2 separate regions of the Homo sapiens genome follow, and region 1 is linked to region 2. The links are contacts of gene promoters, found by promoter capture Hi-C in blood cells and fetal thymus (Javierre and others, 2016). All regions are on one chromosome and are shown on one strand. Each heading gives the region's core, a stretch centred on a gene start or on the middle of the fragment in contact. The rest is flanking DNA. Distances are from core to core; before and after follow the strand shown. Region 1 overlaps COX17 (cytochrome c oxidase copper chaperone COX17). Region 2 holds the start of NDUFB4 (NADH:ubiquinone oxidoreductase subunit B4).

What was found. Contacts are between HindIII fragments. The CHiCAGO score rates a contact against its expected background, and 5 or more counts as called.
Region 1: a contact is called between a fragment that was not itself captured here and the fragment with the promoter of NDUFB4 in region 2, in 2 of 17 cell types (total CD8 T cells and fetal thymus). The highest score is 6.6, in total CD8 T cells.

What each region holds. Positions count from the first base shown.
Region 1 is chr3:119,672,076-119,676,181 of GRCh38, forward strand. COX17 (cytochrome c oxidase copper chaperone COX17) reads right to left here. Exons shown (of 3, transcript NM_005694.2): 2 at 3,070-3,158. The coding sequence ends at 3,074. Among named protein-coding and RNA genes, the nearest start is that of COX17, 3.3 kb to the right of the region's middle. The HindIII fragment of the contact is 1,917 bases long and covers 1,146-3,062 here.
Region 2 is chr3:120,593,435-120,597,948 of GRCh38, forward strand. NDUFB4 (NADH:ubiquinone oxidoreductase subunit B4) reads left to right here and starts at 2,902. Exons shown (of 3, transcript NM_004547.6): 1 at 2,902-3,105. The coding sequence starts at 2,926. RefSeq lists enhancers at 2,973-3,312, 4,353-4,422. The HindIII fragment of the contact is 1,375 bases long and covers 2,385-3,759 here.

The sequences.
Region 1 (4,106 bases), core at 854-3,353, 920 kb before region 2:
ACTCTAAAGGTATGAGCTATTCTGTTCTGGTTTTTACAGATGATTTATTTTACATTGAATCATCACAACTCTATGAAGTAGTTTGGGCATGTATTATTGTCTCCATTTTACGGATGAGGAAACCAAGGTACAGAAAGTTAAGGACCTGCCCAAGACCACACAATCAGTTAAGCAGTAGATTTTCTAAGTCTAAAGCTTTTGCATTTTCTTTTACACACAAATGAAGTACACAAACATAATTCTCACTCTCTGCCCTGATAACATAAAGAAAACTATGATATCATATGATACTTTTGAATATATGCCACTTATAACAATTGTACCACCTTTGTGGTTCAGATGAAGTCCAAGATAAGCTTTTGATATTCCTAAAATTAGCATTTCTTTTTATTTAATCACCCCTTTTTATCAAGGCAAGTTCAGCACAAGCCTACAGCTTACACAACTGACGAGGGAGTTAGATCATGAACAAGGAAACCATGTACAAATGTTAAGGTTGCATCTTTAAAAATAGTTAATAAAGTACACATACTTTTTAAGAACACACTCCCCTTCAAATTTACTTATTTTATAAAATAGTTCATTATGGGATTTCTTTAAATAACCATCTATTCTAAAAGCAACTTAAGTATATCATTTACACAACAGTAGATATACCATACTATATATAGAATCACAAAATGTATTATGGTTCTCTTTTTATAAATAATAAGTGAAATTCAGAGGAGTAATGTCTTGATGAAGCTAAATGTAGCTAAACTTAAAAACATGATAAACTAAACATCAGGAGAATAAAAACAAAGCCTCAGGACTTTCAGCCTAGACTGTTTTCCATTACACAGTAACTTCTTATCAGCTTGCGACAAGTTCCTTATCCCTCCTTTTTTATAGCTCAGTGAGGAAGACTGGCCATATGTGAAATTCCAAAGAGGCAGGAAAGAGGTGCAAGGGAAAGAAGCCAGGCTCTCTAGTACTAATATATTGGCATATGGCTTTGGCATTCTCTCTCAGCTGTTATTAAGTTAAAAGTGGTAGTGTGGTGTGGAAGTTAGGGTAGGGGCAAAAAGCAGAGGGAATCGGCATGGAGACTGAGGCTCCAGTTCTGATACTGCACAACCCACCTTGGGGGCCATTTCATAACTATAAGCTTTAATTTCCTTATTTATTCATTCATTTAACAATCCTCCATTAAGCACCTACTATGAGCCAGGCACTGTTATAGGTAGTGGGGATATGACAGTAAATGAAATAGAAAATTCCTACTTTCTCAGAGCTTACATTCTAGCTGCCGTGAAGCAACACAGGTAATTAAAAATATATGTATCATGCAGGTGACAGTGTATAGAATAGAGTAGCCACTAGCCACATGTAGCTATTAAAATTTTTACAAACTAAAAATTCAGTACCTCACTCTCACCAGCCACAATTCAAGTGCTCAACAGCCACATATGGCTAGTGGCTACCAGACTGGCAAGTGCAGATACAGAGCATTTCCATCTTCACAGAAAGGTCTTAGGACAGCACCATGATAGAGTGATGGGGAAGGGATGTAATTTACATGGGGTGTTGAGGGAAAGCCTCTCTAATAAGGAGACTTTTGAAAGAGACCTGAGTAAAGAGGGAGTGGGGTGAGGGGGTGAGCTAAGTTGATAACTGAAGAAAGAGCTTCCAAACAAAAGAGTATCATTTGTTTGTGGAATTGTTGGACACATACCACTTAAGGTCCCTTTCAGCACTTAAAATGGGTTAAGAGTTCCAAGTTCTTTTAAAAATGGCCTGAGGCCCACCGCCCTGTCTGGGATGTCAGGAGTGCCACTGCCCGGCTGCCCACTGTCTGGGAAGTGAGGAGTACCTCTGTCCGGCCACCCCGTCTGGGAAGTGAGGTGCCTCTCCGCCTGGCCACCACCCCATCTGGGAAGTGAGGTGCCCCTCTGCCCGGCTGCTGCCCCGTCTGGGAAGTGAGGAGCGCCTCTGCCCAGCTGCTGCCCCGTCTGGGATGTGAGGAGCGCCTCTGCCCAGCTGCCGCCCTGTCTGGGATGTGAGGAGCGCCTCTGCCTGGCCGCCCCACCGTCTGGGAAGTGTGGAGCGTCTCTGCCCAGCTGCCCACTGTCTGGGAAGTGAGGAGTGCCTCGGCCCGGCTTCTGCCCTGTCTGGGAAGTGAAGAGCACCACTGCCCGGCTGCCCCACGTCTGGGAAGTGAGGAGCACCTCTGCCCGGCCGCTGTGCAACCTTCCAAGTGTGAAGTGACAGCCTTGTGTGTGATCTTTTCTGTCTTCCCCAAGTTTGCATTTTTGACATTAAAGTTTACTTTTTAATTAAAAAAAAAATGGCCTGAGGCTTTAGTTTTATTCGAATAAAGCATGCTACAATTCCATTTTCATTTTTCAGAAAGCAATACTTCCGTGGGATACCCACTCCCTACTTAAAAGCATTTCTTGGCCAGGCATAGTGGCTCACACCTCTTAATCCCAGCACTTTGGGAGACCAAGGCAGGAGGATTGCCTGAGTCCAAGAGGTTGAGACCAGCCTGGGCAAGATGGTGAAACCCCATCTCTAAAAAACAACACAAAAAATTAGCCAGGCACGGTGGCCCACACCTGTAGTCCCAGTTACTTAGGAGGCTGAGGGGAGGATCACCTGAACCTCCCAGGTTGAGGCTGCAATGAGCTGTGATTGGGCCACTTCACCCCAGCCTGGGTAACAGAGTGAGACCCTGTCTCAAAAAAAAAAAAAAAAAAGCATTTACTGAAGTCCCACAATATTTATTAGAAACAAGAAAGAGAATATGTTTCTTTTAGTTCCCTCAGTCAATTTTCCTAAAGCCATGGGACCTAAAGGCTTTTGTCAAACCCTTTCTTAAAAGCTCAATTCTCCCCTTCCCCAATCCGCTAAATGACTGTCTTTACTGACATAATTTACTCCCTTCATTGGGAACTGAAAAATCATGGTTTTTTCAAATTGATACTTAAGCATTTTAGATTAACCAGGTGAACTACCTTTCAGAGAGAATGTAGCCCAATTGTTGCTAAATCTGTAAAGCAATACACAACTTTGAAGCAAGAAGCTTACCATTTCATATTTTAAATCCTAGGGCTCTCATGCATTCCTTGTGGGCCTCAATTAGATGTCCACAGTGTTCTTCTCCTTTCTCGATGATACTATAAAACAAAATGTACTTGTTATCTAAATATGCATTAAGCACATTATTAAGTATGCATGATAGTGATGGGGAGTGAGACAAAACACGGGTATAATGGAATGTAGCTGGAATTAAAACAAACGCTATTACCTCAAACAGCTTTGTTTTTATTTGATCTTATGATATGCCCATGCCTATGAAGACATTCCACAGATAAGTGATTTTGGGGGGGAAATCTGATAAGAAATAATCACGCATATTAAATATTGCCTCTAGTCAATATCCAAGGAGTAACACTGCTCTATAAAGAAATAAACTGAGTAAAATATTTATGCTAAATGAAGGGCACAGAGAACAGCTCAATTTTTTGCTTATTATCACAGAGAAATTAACTTTCTGATTTTGCCCTACATTCAAACACAACCAAATAAATCTACTTCTAATTACATCAAAAACATCTGGTAGCCAGGAGACCGAGATAAACACCCCCTCATGATGATCAAAGAATATTTTACTTGTAAAATTCACAAAGTAAAGACTAGGACTACACAGCTTTATTTCTAAGGCCTGAAAATGTGATTTTGCAAATAATCAAGTTAAGCCCAATTCAATTACAAGGAAAAACTGACTCCTGACTATGGATATTTGGGGAGAACCCACGTGGTCTGAGGCAATCGAGGCAAAGGGAATTTAACAAAGGGAATAGGTTCTCCTTCCATGGAAACTCTACCCATCCTTCAATAGCTCAAGAGCTGCCTGCAAATGGGAGATTGCCTGGGATAGTGAGATCATTGTGAAGATAATAGCTAGCATTCATTGATCATTTATTGCCATGTATACTGTGTTAGCCACTTGACATGGCTTGTATCATTAACCTTTACAATAATACTGGAGGGAGTTTCTTTTATTAGAGTCATTTTACAGACACATGAGGCTCAAGGTCACCAAGTTAGTGGATTAAGATTCA
Region 2 (4,514 bases), core at 1,652-4,151:
TCTAAGAGGGCCTTTTCTGGTACCAATTATCTTTGGAAAAGAAAGACCTTTTGTACTCATCTCTGTTTTACAAGCATGTAATATATTTTAATACCACCACTCCCCCACTGGAAATTGTAAAAAATACAGACTCTTGGGTTCCTCTGCCATACCAATTTTGAATCTCCAGGTGGAGAACGGGAACTAGGAGTTAAAAAAAAATTCCATATTTTAATTTACTAATTATTTTTACTTCATTTTTTTTTTTAGAGGTGCAGTCTCACTATGTTGTCTAGGCTAGACTTAAACTCCTGGGATCAAGGGATCTTCCGGCCTCAGCCTCTCCAGTAGCTGGGACTACAGGTACATGCTACCACACCTGGCTAAACTCCCTTTTTTTTTAACACTCATCATAAGCAATCCTCGTGATAATCAGGCAAGTGTGGTAATAACTACTTTAACTCATCCAAAGCTTTCTTTATAGTAACCTTAAGAAATCTTCTTTAACCTAGTCAGCTGGTTTGAGGTAGGAGGTAGGACTCGGACACCGAACCAAATTGAGCACTAGCCTAAACAGGTCGGAGGTGGAAGCCGCTTTCCATCAGATACACACACCAGTGTGTCAGTTCATCATTGCCATGGCAACACCCAGGAGTTACCACCCCTTTCCAGGGCAATGACCTGATGACCCAAAAGTTGCTACCCCTTCCCTAGAAATGTCTGCATAAACTGCCTCTTTACTTTTTTGTCTGTTTGTTTGTTTGTTTGAGACGGAGTCTCGCTCTGTCGCCCAGGCTGGAGTGCAGTGGCGCGATCTCGGTTCACTGCAAGCTCCGCCTCCCTGGTTCACACCATTCTCCTGCCTCAGCCTCCCGAGTAGCTAGGACTACAGGCGCCCGCCACCACGCCCAGCTAATTTTTTTTTGTATTTTTAGTAGCGACGGGGTTTCACCGTGTAAGCCAGGATGGTCTTGATCGCCTGACCTCGTGATCCGCCCGCCTCGGCCTCCCAAAGTGCTGGGATTACAGGCGTGAGCCACCGCGCCCGGCCAAACTGCCAAATGTGGGTATAAATGTGACTCAAAGCTGGCCTGAGCTGGTGCTTTCTGCCTATGAGGTGGCCCTGCTCTACAGGAGCAGTCACGGTTGTGACACCACCAAAGCTGTAACACTGCCTCTTCAATAAAATTGTTTTCTTCTACCTCCGGGTTGCCCTTGAATTCTTTCCTGGGCAAAGCCAAGTTCCCTGGTTGCCTAAGCCCCACTTTGGGGCTCGCCTGCCCTGCATCAGTTCGTACTCGCTGGACTCATTCCTTTATCCTTTTATTCTTTTTACATGCTCTCCTTCCTAGATCAGTGTCTAATCTATACAGGTTTTGGAAACTTTATGTAGTCTTTAGAATTTTATAAACTGCTCTTGCTTTTCATATTGTATTATTTTCTTAGTATTTCAAAACACCTTTGAACAAGTCAGAATTTCCTTTTTTTTTCTCCTTTAAAATCGAGTCTGAGTAACTCGTCTTGTGTTCATTTTTTCTACATTCTCTCAGCCTGAATCCTCATGAGTCCATTTTGCTCTATATTCATCTGGACATTAGACTACTTTGAAATATTACCATTTCTGCCTATTCTTTCTGTACTGCCTGATTGTCAGCTCCCGAAAGGCAAACACCCCATCTTCCATTTTGTCTGGATTTCCCCCACTGAGCCTAGAAGATTGACTTAACACTGACTAGTGTGCTGTGTGCTTCACGCGGTGGGTGCTTAATAAATATTTTAAAACAGTATTAAAATGTTGAATAAATTTGACAGCAGTGCTGCTTCTCATCATTTCAAATGCCAACACTTTCTAGGTCCCTTTTCTAGCAACCATTTCCCAACATACCTACGCGCCCCCAGACGTTTCAGCCAAGCTGGGGCTCTCTTTTGATCCATCCTTCTTTGCCCGAGTTATGGAAATATTGTTTACATTTTTTCCCCTGAGGAGAAGGGGAACCCAAAGACCCTGCTGTGAAACTTGAAGTTGTTTTTCTCCTTGGTAACTGGGGAGAAGGAAGGACAGTAGGGACAGAGAAGGTTTTGTTTCTGATTACTTCAGTTTTCGCCCCAGATCGTCTTTTACAATAAGATACATGCCCCTATGAGTATTTTCATACCTGTAAGGATGTTTTTAATTCTTTGCATCTGAAGAGTGCTAAGGATTTTAGGCAAGAGGTTTTAGTATTTTAACTAAGATGTTTTCTCATGAGCTTTATTCAGTATCTCATTTTCTTCCTGACCTTCTATAGTCAGTCAGGCAACATTTCTCTTATAACATCATTTTTCCTATTAATCATTATTTCGTACCTGTGAAAAATAAGCTTACACTTAATGTTGTATGAATCTAGCATGGTAAAGTACAGAAAAGCTTATTCTCTTCTTCTTGGGTAGGGAATTCTGTTTTGCAAAGCACTTTGTGATCTATTTGTTAGCTTATTTAATCCTCACAACAACTTTGCTAGGTGGACAGGAGTCATTATCTCCAGGATAAGGAAAAGGAAACTCAGAGACTTTAAGTGACTTATCCAAGGTGACACAGCACGGTTAGACCCACAATGAAAACCCGGACTTCTGACTCCACAGCCAGTCCCACACAGCTCAACTTTACATAATAAGCCCTGGTTATGTCAGTAGAGACAAGGCTGCTAGGAAGAAGCAGCGCGGTGACAGATGAGTAGGTGGGGAGCGGCGGTGGGGCAGGGCGCACTGCGAGAAGAGCACTTCGCGCATGCGCATATCACCGAGCGAACGCGCCGTGTTCGGGAAGGTAGGAGAAAGAGGCGGAGCTCCTTGTTAACGACATCCCCAACCTCTGCTAACGCGCAGGCGCACTTCCTGAAGCTGAAGGTCAGCATAGACAAAGGGCCTCAGAATCGCGCAGGCGCAATTGTGCCCTGGTTCGCCAAGATGTCGTTCCCAAAGTATAAGCCGTCGAGCCTGCGCACTCTGCCTGAGACCCTCGACCCAGCCGAATACAACATATCTCCGGAAACCCGGCGGGCGCAAGCCGAGCGGTTGGCCATAAGAGCCCAGCTGAAACGAGAGTACCTGCTTCAGTACAACGATCCCAACCGCCGAGGGCTCATCGTGAGTGTGGGGCCTCCCAGGCGGGAATAGGGCCCGAGTCCTGGGAGAGACCGAGAGAGACCACGCAAAGGGTCGGCCACCGCTCCCGATCAGTATCTCAGACGCAGGTCCTCTTCCAGGCCTAGCCAACTCACTACCCTTTTACCTTTGCCAGAGCTTGGCCCTCGAGAGGACCGGCTCTGGACTCAGACCTGGCTGGGTTTGAATCCTGGCTTGATCACTTCCTGCCTGCGTGACCTTAAGAACGTTATTCACTCTGCTTATCCTCGATTTTCTGTCTGCAAAATGGGCGTAATATAGTGCTTACTCTTTTATCAGGCTGTTAGGATTAAATGAGATAGAGTATGTGACTGTCCTAGCACAGTGCCTCGTTCGTAAGGCGTGTTCAGAAAATGTTTCTATATATATGCATATATATATTATATTATATATATATTCTATATATATGCATATATATTATATTCTATATATATGCATATATATTTTATATATATGCATATATATTATATTCTATATATATGCATATATATTTTATATATATATATAATTTTAAAGAGCTGGTGTTTACCTTTCAGTTCACAGCTCATAGGGATACTGCTCTCTCCTGATGGGAATACAGTGATTCCTTCAACCTGCATCTTTTAAAGACCCTGAAGCTTGCTGAAGTTCTAGGCTTTGGAGTCAGAACCCAAAGCACTACTCATTGGCTAACTCTGTTACCTTGGGCAACTTCAACTCCTCTGAATTATAGTTTCCTGGTTTCGTATATAAATGATGTGCATTATGAGGTTAAATAAGACAGTCTGTGTAACATTCGCAGCACATAATATATGCCCAGTAAACTGGTAATTAACAGGTGTGCTTTCATTAGGTAGTTTTCTATACAGGAACTAAGTAGGTTAAATATGATGTTAACAGAACAGGACTGGACTTTTCCCACACGTTGCATTGGTGTTTTGGAATTTTTGGAAGTTATGAGGATTGAATGAAAGTTACAATGTGCCAGGCACTGTGCTAAAACTCTTTTTGAGTACTATTTACATATCACAACTATTTGGATGATTAAGCTCTACTACTGTCCCCATTTTACAGATGAGAAGACAACATGGGAAGGACAAGTAGGTCATACAGAGATACCTCTTTAGTAGGTGATAGAGCAAAATTCTAACCCTGGTTTGTGTAACCCACAGCATCTGCTTTTAACTAGTTGGTTATACTGTCTCCAGCCAGAACCTTGTTAACTTGGGAAGAGGGTGCAGAGAGACACATTTATTACAAACTCACATGATTGGGTTTGATGTGTTAGTGTGATGCATTAAAAAAGAATAAGGCCTCAGTCAGACCTGAAATTGAAACCAAGATCTTCTGTCTTCTAGCTGTATGCCTCAGGGTAGTTTCAATTTTCTCAT